Regions from separate parts of the Homo sapiens genome. Here region 2 is linked to region 1. Evidence: promoter capture Hi-C in 16 types of primary human blood cells and fetal thymus (Javierre and others, 2016). All regions are on one chromosome and are shown on one strand. The core of a region is centred on a gene start or on the middle of the fragment in contact, and the rest is flanking DNA. Distances in the headings are between cores, read along the strand shown. Region 1 holds the start of SLC35B3 (solute carrier family 35 member B3). Region 2 holds the start of CAGE1 (cancer antigen 1).

Region 1 (6,005 bases), core at 2,513-5,012:
ACAATTTACTCTTTTCTATGTGTGAGCATGGATATAGTGCACCATTCAAATAAACCCGGCCTTACATAGGTTTCTAAGTTTGCTCTCCCTCCACTCTCAATAAAGCCCTAAACCACCCATGTTTCATTCCTGAAATACACCAGGGACTTTAAAACACCGCTGCCTTCTGTTCATGATGTCCTTTCAGCCTGAGGTCTTCTTTCTCAAGGTCAGGTTTGGAAGTTCAGCTTTAATATCCCCTCCTTTGTGACACCATCACTAATCCCCCCAGTTATTAGAAAAGAGAACTTGAAAGGCAAGATTCAAATCTTATTTGTCTCTGTGTCCTTGGTACCTGGCATATACTCTGACCTGATATTCAGATGAACCAAATAAACTGATCCTTCCTCTTGATACCCTCAAACTTCAGCTTGCAATCACTCACCTTCTGCTTGGATACGATTTTTGAAATGGATGGTGGTACTGGCAAACTTTATGAGCAAAACTGAAAATCTTATAGAAAAAGAGTGGGGAAAATTTACAAATAATGCTTACATATTTACACATACATACAGAATAAATAAAACTTCTAGAAAATATCTTTCTTTCCTGCTTTTATTGGCATCAAAACATTTCTCCAGAAGGTCACGCTTTCCCAAAGTCACCTTCTTCTGAGATGTTTGTAATTTAGTAAACTGCCAAGCATATTGTAATGACTCAATACAATTATAGGTAATAGTATAAGAAAGCAGTATAGCATAATGCTTTCCCCATGCTTTGGAATTTTGACAGATATGAGTTCAAGATCTGGCTTTACTACTTATTAGCTGAGGAGCCTTGGGCAAATCGTTTAACTTTTCTGAGCTTTAGGTTCTGCACCTTCAAAAGTGGGAGGAGTTAAAAATGTGCCTATCACAGGATTTTGGTTAGGACTATATGAAATAAATGTAAAATTGCCTGGCATATGACAGTCCATAAGTGTGTTAGCTGTCATCCTTCAACTTTTTAGAAATATTGCTAGGGTGATATGGTGTGCTCAAGCTGACTCACCCCTTTGATGTGCAGCTGGAAATACAGACCTGAATTTCCAACGCTGCCTTCTCTCCTGAGATCCAGAGCTCTACGTCTAAATGCTTCTTTGATACCTCTACTCATAAGCTCTGCTGGCACTTCATATTTAAAATGGCCAAAGCTGATTATTTTCCCCTCAAAACAAATCTACTGTTTGTTCCTATATTCCCAATCTCACTTAACAGTACCTAGTATGAAACACAAGCTAAAAATCTGGGAGTCATCTTAAGAATCTTTCCTTTTCCTCACATTCTATATTTTGCCAAGATTCCTGTTAACTCTACCTCTATAACTATATCTAATATCTGTTTCGGACCCTACTCCATCAGGCAGCCATTTTCTCTTGCCTAGATTACGAGACTGTTTATAATCAATTCTTCCCTTTCTGACCCATCTGTCACATGGCTCAACGTGAAGTCTGATCATGCTGCATCCATGAATAAGGCCTCGAAGTTAAAAACGAGTTGATGTCCTGGACTCAATCATATTATACATATTTTTCAAATTCCTAAATGATAATGGTATAGCTTTTTCGTTTTTATACTTGTTTCTCCTAAAAGCCTATGAAATCCTTAAGGCAAGAGATATCTTCCTATGATGTTCTGGCACATAACAAAAATGTAAGATTAAATGAAGGACTCTACCACAGTTTAGCAAGCACCATTTATTTAATCAACGTTATTCAGCTCCTTTCCAACACTTTACCACTTCTAATACACTTCTTGGCAACTTTATGTGCTGCAGATCTAGGCCATATGTGCAGAATGAAATCTCTCTAGCACTGTCTTTTCTACATGTATGCCAAAATACCGACATTGCTACTGAAACTCCCCACAAAACATTTGAAATGAACATGAAAATAAATTTGTTTCCTCTGCCTGAGGCATCAGTCTCATAAAACTTGCCCACCAAAGCCTTGCATTTAGAATGCTGTTTTATTAATAAGAACATCACTGGTGAGAAAGTGTGACTGATAAAGACCTCTGATACCTAATAACTGTGATCATTGGGGAATGTCTGCCATATCCCTTCCACTTCAAACATTAATGACTGATACTAACCATCATCTAAAAAAAAAAATGGGCCAAACTCCTTGTGATGCAAGGAGCAAAAATGAAGCATGGAATTAAAATTAGTTTTCAGACTAAATGATCAACATTGTGCTTTGCTTTTGAAGCTCACAGTAATCAGTGAAACTAAAATATATATATATATATTTTAAAAATCACAGGTGTGTATAATTGCCTGAGGCCTCTTCCTAAATTCAACACAGATATTCAACTTCAACTGCTAAAATGGAATAAAAAGGTAGCATTTCCGGCATACAATGTATATTTAAAAATTAAAATTAGTGATAATGTTGAGTTACAATGACCTATTGAAGTCACAATTATTTCAGTTTATTTTTGAGTTTTCCGACCTGAAGGACAAAAGTCCCACACCAAAAAAAGGTAGAATATGAAAAAAAAGTCATTACGGTGTCATTAACCTGAAAAAACGTGATTTTAACTATACTTTGCCACACTCAACGTTACAAATAAAAGAATCTTACCATGCCATTATGCCTTGATTAACTGCGCTCCGGAATCAATCATGGCCTATGGTGTACGATTATAAAACAGAAAAAACAAAGTTCCATCTCATTTCTTTGTACACACATCATTACACAAAGGTGGAGAAACCCTGTGCTAATGTTTGAAGACTATTCTTTTTTTTTTCCAAGAGAAAAAGTTAACACTAGGACTTTATATATTAAGTAATTAAGTAAAAATAACGCTGTCTAAATTATTTTGAAATGCTGCCTCTCTTCCAAGTTCCAAACTATCTCAATTCACTTAGAAAAACGTTTAATCAAAAAACAATTCTAGGCTTCTGATATCCTAATGTAGAAAAAATGCAGATACTCAACACTTAAGATTTTGTTAGCGCACCAAATCATTCCATCTTTTACTTTCAATATTCCTTAAATAATAAAAAGACGGGAGAGATAATTCAGTTGCAAAGACTGGAGGAAACTTGCAGAACTTCTAGTGGAAGTTTATGCCATAAACTTAATAGCCCAGCCAGAACAATCACATTCTACTGCAAGCCAAATGGAGAAAAGAGTACCTTGGAGTGCCCCTATTTAATAAACACGGAACGAGGAAACAGTTAACTGTAAATACAGTCTAGAGGTATCCAGGTGACTGACAGTTCTCCAGAGACCCCGAGAACAGCGTAAAAGACCCCTTGAGGTCACCTCACCCCTGCGAGTCCACGGATTGGGACCTGAGGGAGTTCTCGCCAGCCCGAGGGCGAAAAACGGGCGAGGAGGAACAGATGCTCCTCCCTGGAAACCGCCCGGCCGGTTTCCGCTCTTTCAAAAAAGGGAATCACCCGTTTCTTCCATCCCGACCTCATCCATTCCTCGAACGCTCCTTCTGGATGAGGAAGATGGGCAGTGTCAAGGTTTTCTGGAGGAGAGGAGATCTGGGTCCCAAACACAGGAAAGGCCCCGAAGGCACGCGTACCCCAAGGCCGGTATGTCACCCGGAAGGGTGACGGCAGCCTGCGTGGCGTCTGAGCTAGACGGAGCATCTCCCCCTCCCCTGGTCCGTCGCCATCACCTCCTCTTCCTCCTCCTCCTCGCCCACTCCTGCACTTTCCACCGCGGCGGTCGCCTCCCCGGAAAGCACTCTCAACTCCGGCGCCCGCAGGCCACTTCCGCCTATGTGTCCCTGCGCGCGTGCGCAGACGCGTGGCCCCGCCTCCCGACAGGCCTGTGTGGCCGGTGGCGGGCGGGCCGTTACCTCCCGCGCATGCTCTATGGGGTAGAGACGCTAGGCCGGCACTGCCTAGGTGGGCCGGGCGGTGCGAGGGTCGCCTTTCAGCCTTTACCTCTACCCACTGAAATGGAGTAGGTCGGTGAGCGCCGATCTGCTGGAGAATCTCATTATCCCATCGGCGCTCTGCCTGCTCCTGGCCTCCAAGCCTCTGAAGCCCCTCGGGTTTCAGCTGCCGGCTACCCTCGAGCCCGTGGTGCCCACGAGAGAGGCGACTTTACGTCAGCGGCCCTGGGCTGAGATTTGAGAACGCGACCAAGTGGAGAATGTTGGAGCCAGATTTTAAAATCCTTGTCTTCCTTCTGCGTGCTACTTGATCTAAATGAGATACGGCAAAGTCACAGAACCTGTTTTTATGTTTTTGCCTGATTCATACGGGCTTCTCCGGTGAAGATGGGCCTGAAGTAACGCTTGGGTTGCTTCTGACGTTATAACTCATCCTGTAGCTGCAGCAACCGTGGTCCTTGCAACCTCATAAAAATGTTGCCAGCATTGTTTCGATAGTGCTGCTTAATTCTTGGAAGGTAAATCTCAAAGCTTGAGGACCAGCCATCAAAACTTTTGTAAAAGGTTTTCCCCGCGTTTAGGGCCTCATCCATCACCACTGAGATGTAATAACGTAAAAACCAAGACGGTTTGGGGATGAGCTGTTTTCAGAGAATAATTAAGGAAAATATTACTGTAACGAAGATGGACAATTTTTGAAAGCATGCCTTGAATACCAGAAAGGGATGAATTGGATTAATATGTATGTTAGAATCCAGTCAGTTATGGACAACTTTTAAAATTTTACAGGCACTCTTCAGAAAGGGTAGCATTTGTGTCTTGTATTGGGATCGAGGGTTTGTAAGAAAGCAAGGCACCTACTTTGGTGGTGAGAAAAAAAGGTCTGGGTAGACATTTTCGTTTAATACTTGCCAACGTTGTTAGGCTGGTGTTAGCAACACTTAGGAATGTTGGAATTAAGGCTTAGAGAACTTAAATTTCCTAAAGAGATAGTAAATGACAAAACCTTTCAGTGATGCCATATCGTCACTGTATAATGTGAATTTAGTACTACTGTTAGCCATTTATATGGTGGTTATTTATCAAGTATTTATTAAATGGGCATATGTATAGCTCATATCGTAAACTATGCGTATGAGCTCCCTGTCCTGAAGAAATTAGGGGTTTCCATGAGAAAGTAAATGGCAGTATAAAACAACTTAAGGTACAAGAGGTGTTACAAGGTACCATCTGCTCATGCCTGGACAATTGCAGTAGCCGTGAGCATAGCTTTCTGCATTCCCTTTATTTCTCTACATAGTTGCATTCAGCAGCTGGAGTGATCCCATTAGAACCTGAATATGCCACTCCTCTGTGCAGAACCTTTTAGCGGTTTACCATTTTACTCAGATTAAAGTTCAAAATTCTTACCCTGACTTTTAAGACTGAACTTATTCTTGATGGATCACATCCAAGCTACACTTCAGAGCTTTTCTAATTGCCCCCAAGCACAGCAAGCATCAGTGCTTTGTAGCTGTTGTTCCTTCTGCATGGAACACTGCCCTCTCAGATGTCCACAGAGCTTGCTTCCTCATTTTTTTCCAGTCACTGCTCAAATGTCACCTGGCTCTTCTCTGACTACCATGTCAGTGAAATATTTTTACATGTCAAATGTGAAATGTAGGAGAGACTATCTGGAGTAGTACTTATTATAGAGTAGGTGTTTAATAAATATCGACTCTCTTACAATACTTCCCATTTACTCCTGTGATAACCACGTGGTAAACAAAATTAAAGACTTGCAGCTATGAATTGTTTTTTATTGACTGATTGACTGATTGAGGCAGAGGCTCACTCTGTCGCTCAGGCTGGAGTGCAGTGGCACATCTCAGCTCACTGCAACCTCTGCCTCCTGGGTTCAAGCCATTCTCCTGTCTCAGCCTCCCGAGTAGCTGGGATTATAGGCGCCTGTCACCATGCCCGGCTAATTTTTGTATTTTTAGTAGAGATGGGGTTTCACCTTATTGACCAGGCTGGTCTCGAACTCCTGACCCCAAGTGATCCACCCACCTCAGCCTCCCAAAGTGCTAGGATTATAAGCGTGAGCCACTGCGCCTGGTCCTATGAATTGGTTTTAAATTTTTAAGA
Region 2 (5,962 bases), core at 1,470-3,969, 1.0 Mb before region 1:
AAATCTTTTCATTTTAGTATTATTTGCAAGTATTAAAAATAAAGACATTTGTATACAGCATTTAGATTTACTTTAATAAACATGATCAGTGTAGGGCCCGGTGTGGTGGCTGATACCTGTAATCCCAACACTTTGGGACACCGAGGCAGGAGACTCACTTGAGCCCAGGAATTTGAGACCAGCCTGGGCAGCATAGTGAGATCCATTTCAAAAACAAAACCAAAAACATGATCAATGTATCTCATTATATGATTAAATCCTAAATAGCTTTCATCTGTCAATTTAGGATTAGAATAACAGATTTGGGGTTAAATCAACACACAGCTCTCTTTTTTTTTTTTGAGACAAGGTCTCACTATGGTTGCCCATGCTGCAGTGCAGTGGCGTGATCTCGGCTCACTGCAGTCTCAGCCTCCCGCGCTCAGGTAATTCTCCCACCCAGGCCTCCAAAATGGACCACGATGCCTGGCTAATTTTTTGTATTTTTAGTAGAGACGGGGTTTCGTCCTATTGCCCAATCTGATTTCAAACTAGTGGACTCAAGCAATCCTTCTGCCTTGGCCTCCCAAAGAGCTGGGATTACAGGTGTGAGCCACTGTACCTGGTGTTTTTTGTTTGTTTTGGTTTTTTTTGAGATGGAGTTTCGCTCTTGTTGCCCAGGCTGGAGCGCAATGGTGCAATCTCGGCTCACAGCAACCTCCACCTCCTGGGTTCAAGGGAGTCTCCTGCCTAAGCCTCCCAAGTAGCTGGGATTACAGGCATGCACCACCACACTCAGCTAATTTTGTATTTTTACTGGAGACGGGGTTTCTCCATGTTGGTCAGGCTGGTCTTGAACTCCCGACCTCAGGTGATCCACTTGCCTCAGCCTCCCAAAGTGCTGGGATTACAGGCGTGAGCCACCGTGCCTGGCCCCCGCTTTTTTTTTTTAAGAGACAGGTTCTCCTTCTGTTGCCCACTGGAGTGCAGTGACATGATCATAGCTCATAACAGCCTTGGACTTCCTGGCTCAAGCAATCCTCCTGCCTTGGCCTTCCAAAGCACTGGTATTATAGATATGATCCACCACACCCAACCTCAATACACATTTAAGGATACTTGTATAGTAGAAAATTTTTGTGTCTGAGTCTGAGACTTGATCACGGCTCATTCATTTAAAGCTACACAATCCTGGGCAAGTTACTCTCTGAGCCTTATTTTCCTTATCTGTAAAATGAAGATAAAAACAGCCCTTACTTCAATTTTTTAAAATTCTTATTTCAATAAGATTTTTTTGTGGATTAAGTGTGATGATGTATATAAAGTGCTTAGCACAAAACCTGGCTATTGTTACTATCACGGAACACAAAAAAAAGTTTCTCTCTTTTGCATATTGCTAACAAGTAGATACTTACCATTTAACAAATTGTCTAGTGTGCCATAAGCATCTTCACAAAGTGTGGATTCATACTCATTTTCCCTTTCAAAATTCTTTATTTCGTTCTGTATTAATAAAAAAGGCATCAATACTTCAAGCAAACATCACAAGCTTCTTCTAAAGGTATTTGCACATTGTTACATAATTCTGCTATTAGAATATTTCATTACATAGGTAGAATGTGCTTTCTAGTATCTTTCCCCAGCATGTATTTGGCTCCCTTTTAGTAAAACTATGCTAACAGAGTCCCAATATTAAACAACAATGTAACAAATAGCTTGTTATTTTAATATTTTGGTTTTTTGGTAAGTCAAATCATGTGACTATAAACTTAGGGATACGTGATAGCATATTTATGTATTGATAATTATTTGATGTTTATTAAATCTAGTCTAAACAGCATTAAGATGGTTATTTCAGTCTTTTAACACTGAAGATATATAAAACAGGCATATATCTTTGATGTATTTTTATAAATTCCTATTTAGTGGAATCAGATGTCACTGACTATCAAACGTTTAGCACAACACTCATGAAGATATTGGGACATTACAATCTTTTATTTTTTAATAAAGGGAGCTAGGCATTTTCATGAAGACAGGAAAGTTGTCATTTATATGCAGGGTGCTGTCAATGTCATTATGAATGACAACTGAATCATTTGCATACTGATGTAAGTGGAAGATGCATTAGACTAGAAGTCAGGTTCCTTGGGCTCTTGTCCTGCCTCTGACTGAATTGGTCACGTCCCCTGGCTGCACTCCTGGCTAGAAAGGATCAGTTTTAACACTGTGTGTAAAAATGTACCTTGCTCTCTCGCATAGGCTGGAGTGCAGTGGCGCGATCTTGGCTCCCTGTAACCTCTACCTCCCAGGTTCAAGTGATTCTCCTGTCTCAGCCTCCAGAGTAGCTGGGATTACAGGTGCTCGCTTCCATGCCTGGCTAATTTTTATATTTTTAGCAGAGATGGGGTCTCACCATGTTGCCCAGGCTGGTCAAAATGTATCTTACGCTAGCGAAACTGGGAAAACCAGACCCTGTATTCCCCTCCTTTATGTGTCCACCGAATATTGTTTTATTGTTCCTTATAGTTTTGAAGAAATTTTCATATGGAAGACAATGTGAATTCTGAATACATCTGAGCCTCCTGGAACTTATAAGCAATGCACACCTGAGGCAAGTCACAAGTGGTGCCGGTGGTTTCCATACAGATTGGAGAATGTGAAAGCATTACACCTTGAGAAAGATTGCTGACATTCATGGTATCCGATTCTGACATGCTTTCTACTTTTTCATGAGAAGTATCCACTTCAAAATGTACAGGATCTGAAGGTGATGACCAAAATTTTTGATAGTCCTTGTTCATAACTGTTGAACAATAGAAGACTTCTTTAAAAAAAAAATGTGTCTATTAGTAGGTATAAACAAAAAGTTTTTTCCCTATCCCTCTTCTCATTAAGAAAGTAGCAAAGTTCACTGCCCTTATTTGAAATGTCATTTGTCAAGTTATTAGAAAAATTAAAAATTTTAGTCTGAGTATACCGTAATTTGGTATGGTAGTAAATACTGATTTGGAGAAAAACAAACAGTATTGGCTACTATCCAATAACTCCCTAGAAGGCTTTGGACCTAGAAGTGAAGGGATCTCTGTGTTATTTAATCAAGGATATTTACAAAATATTATCAGAGACCTAATAGTTTCCACAAAATCCTGGATTTTTATTTACTTGATACCTTCCACTTGAACACCTCACTACCAAGTCAAACCCAGCATTGTAACTGTTTTCCCTCCTCACTTTCCTATACTGCGCCTATTCCCTCAGGTACATGTGTTTGAAAACTGGACTTGTCTTGGCATCCCTCTACCTCATCATGCATGGCTATTCAGATACCAAGTCCCGTCCATGTCTCCTTTAAAAATGTCTTTCAGGGCCGAGCGCGGTGGCTCACGCCTGTAATCCCAGCACTTTGGGAGGCCGACGCGGGCGGATCACGAGGTCAGGAGATCGAGATCATCCTGGCTAACACGGTGAAACCCCATCTCTACTAAAAATACAAAAAAAAAAAAAAAAAAAAATTAGCTGGGCGCGGTGGCGTGTGCCTGTAGTCCCAGCTACTCTGGAGGCTGAGGGAGGAGAATGGCGTGAACCCCGGAGGCAGAGCTTGCAGTGAGCCGAGATGGCCCACTGCACTCCAGCCTGGGTGACAGAGCAAGACTCCATCTCAAAAAAAAAAAAAAAAAAAAAAAGTCTTTCAGTAACCTGTGCTTTCTTTCCATCCCATGTTGCCACACTGGTCCATATTCTCCTGACTTCCTCAGGCCTGTCCAGAGCTCCAGAGCTGAGAGTGGAAAGGATGGCCACTCACATTGATTCTATAAATTTTTGTCCTTCCAGGCCATCCATAGCCTGGAGTGACATCCCCTACCCGGTACTCCCCTGCTCTACTCAGATCAGGCTCATTTCCCTGCAGACAGATAATGTTCCTTACGAATTAAGCTTCAGTCATCTGCCCTGGCACGTGCTTCTCTCCTAAAACCTTCCCATCTACCCATTCATCTATTTTCAAAATTCCTACAATGTCTTCAGTCTCTAAATCTCTATCTTACAATTCAGCACTTGGTGATTTCGTTTACTGTTTTAGAGCTTCACCACTGTTTCAAGGGTGTTAGTGTTTGTGTTTACAGATCATAAATGTCTTGAGAGGAGCATACTTAGGGCTTTCCAATATCCCCTACTGCAAATGGACCAGTGCTGTCTACACAGCAAATATTGATTGAATAAAACCTGCATTCCAATGACTTATTTCTATCAAGCTCTTTCAATTTATAGTCATTACTCATCTGCCTGGATTCTTTTATTGAATTTCTGAATGAATAGTTTATTGAAAATTAGTTGTTTTCAAACCTATGTCATCACTTGGTAAAATATAAAAAAGTAAGCCAAGCAGACCAGTCAGGATCAGTGAAAGGCCCAACTTTATGCTCACTTCTCCCTTGTCTTTCAAATAATGCTGCCTGGATTGTGGTGAGATCTGAAAAATTCTTGCTTTGTTTTCCCAATGCAAAAAAGCGCAAAGGCCTTGTTTCTTAGTTTTCTTGTTTGTGAACCCAGCACTTCCAATTACATTTCTACAACTTTGTTCATCCCTCATGTGGCACTGCACAATCTGCCAGTTTACCTTTTTAATTTAAAGTTAGACTATTTTTTCCATCTTTCATTTGTCCTTACAGGTTTATGTTGGATTTTTAACATATTTATCAAATGTTTGAATAGATGTTCCAGAGACATTCTAAAGCTGTTTTAAGATAGGAGTTAAAAGAGGTGTCACGGGAGTTACTCGCAAAAACTATAGTTTTGTTTAAAAGCTTTTTCAGTTGTAAGACAAACTTTACCTTTTTAAAAAGCACTTATCTCATTCATTTTTCACCTCAAAACGAGACACCAAACTTTTTAAGACACAAAAGTGTGCTCACTTCCAGGATCCATAGTTTCTTGGACCCACGCTACGGACCTGGCTCTCCCTCCCTCTGCACCGGGTTTTGTGGGAGGGAGAACGCTTTCCAACCTCCTCCACCAAGGACTCTCACAAACTCGCAATCGGGCTCCCGGAGTGCTGGAACGCCCCTGTGTGACGTCCGCCCGCGCCGGGGGAACTCCGCAGAGACAGGTGCAGCCCGCGAGGCCCGAGCGACCCTACTGTGGGTGCGGTGTCTTCCCAGAGAGTGGTGAAGTTAGGAAGGTACGACCCCCTAGGCCGAACAGCCTGTGGGCTAGCTGGCGCCTCCTGCCGCAGTAAACACAAAGTGGGGTACAGAAACGAAAACTCCGGGAAGAAACGGCCAGCACGGGCCTCGCCGTGCCGGCTACTCAACACGCCTTCCTGAGAGCACAGAACATCCACAGCCCTATACAGCGCGCCATCCAGAGAGCTCCGGACTCCCAGCTCGGCGCAGGGGCGGGACTTCCGCTCAAGTCAGACTTCCGGGCGAGGCGGTGAGGGGCTTCCGGTTGGGGTGGCAGGGTGGTGGATCTGTCGGTCCCGTTTTCCCGTCGCACGTGGTGGCCACTGTTGGCTTCTGAATGGTTTGCAAGGCGGATATCCACGCCAAGGCCTTTGGATCGGCCGTGGGTACATCCGTCTGAGCCGTTCCTTTCCATCGCAGAGCGGCGGCCTCCGGCGGCGCTCTCCAGTCATGGACTACCGGCGGCTTCTCATGAGCCGGGTGGTCCCCGGGCAATTCGACGACGCGGACTCCTCTGACAGGTAGGCGGCCGTACAGTGCCCTGGCTCTGGGTACGGCTCTCTCCTTGACCGCCCCCTTGGGGTGTGGACTCTTGTTTGCGGTTTAGAGGGAGACTAGTGGTTCATCACTCAGCGTCTCTCTTGACAACCCTTTGCCTGTTTCTGCATCCCAGCTGGGTTTTTCTCCCAGTTCACGCGGCAGAGTTAAGTGAAAGCTACTTGTCAAGGGAGTCTGCGGTTCTCAGGTCGGTTAGCGTCACTGGGAGGCAGAGTTGGGGATAGCGATTAGGAAACATGGGT

Evidence for each region. The method cuts DNA at HindIII sites, captures the fragments that hold promoters and counts their contacts. A CHiCAGO score of 5 or more calls a contact.
Region 2: a fragment that was not itself captured here is called in contact with the fragment with the promoter of SLC35B3 in region 1 in 1 of 17 cell types (total CD8 T cells); the score reaches 5.5 in total CD8 T cells.

The regions. Positions count from the first base shown.
Region 1 is chr6:8,431,783-8,437,787 of GRCh38, forward strand. SLC35B3 (solute carrier family 35 member B3) reads right to left here and starts at 3,763. Exons shown (of 10, transcript NM_001370479.2): 1 at 3,561-3,763. It overlaps LOC100506207 (a long non-coding RNA gene), which reads left to right and starts at 3,841. Exons shown (of 5, transcript NR_038980.1): 1 at 3,841-4,396. RefSeq lists enhancers at 3,391-3,530, 3,503-4,044, 3,541-3,600, 3,801-3,970, 3,911-3,990 and 2 more. The HindIII fragment of the contact is 10,856 bases long and covers 1-4,407 here.
Region 2 is chr6:7,384,391-7,390,352 of GRCh38, forward strand. CAGE1 (cancer antigen 1) reads right to left here and starts at 5,352. Exons shown (of 14, transcript NM_001170692.2): 1 at 4,812-5,352; 2 at 2,589-2,806; 3 at 1,395-1,482. The coding sequence starts at 2,783. RIOK1 (RIO kinase 1) reads left to right here and starts at 5,418. Exons shown (of 17, transcript NM_031480.3): 1 at 5,418-5,683. The coding sequence starts at 5,613. RefSeq lists enhancers at 5,031-5,090, 5,101-5,150, 5,281-5,700, 5,304-5,962. The HindIII fragment of the contact is 2,387 bases long and covers 1,527-3,913 here.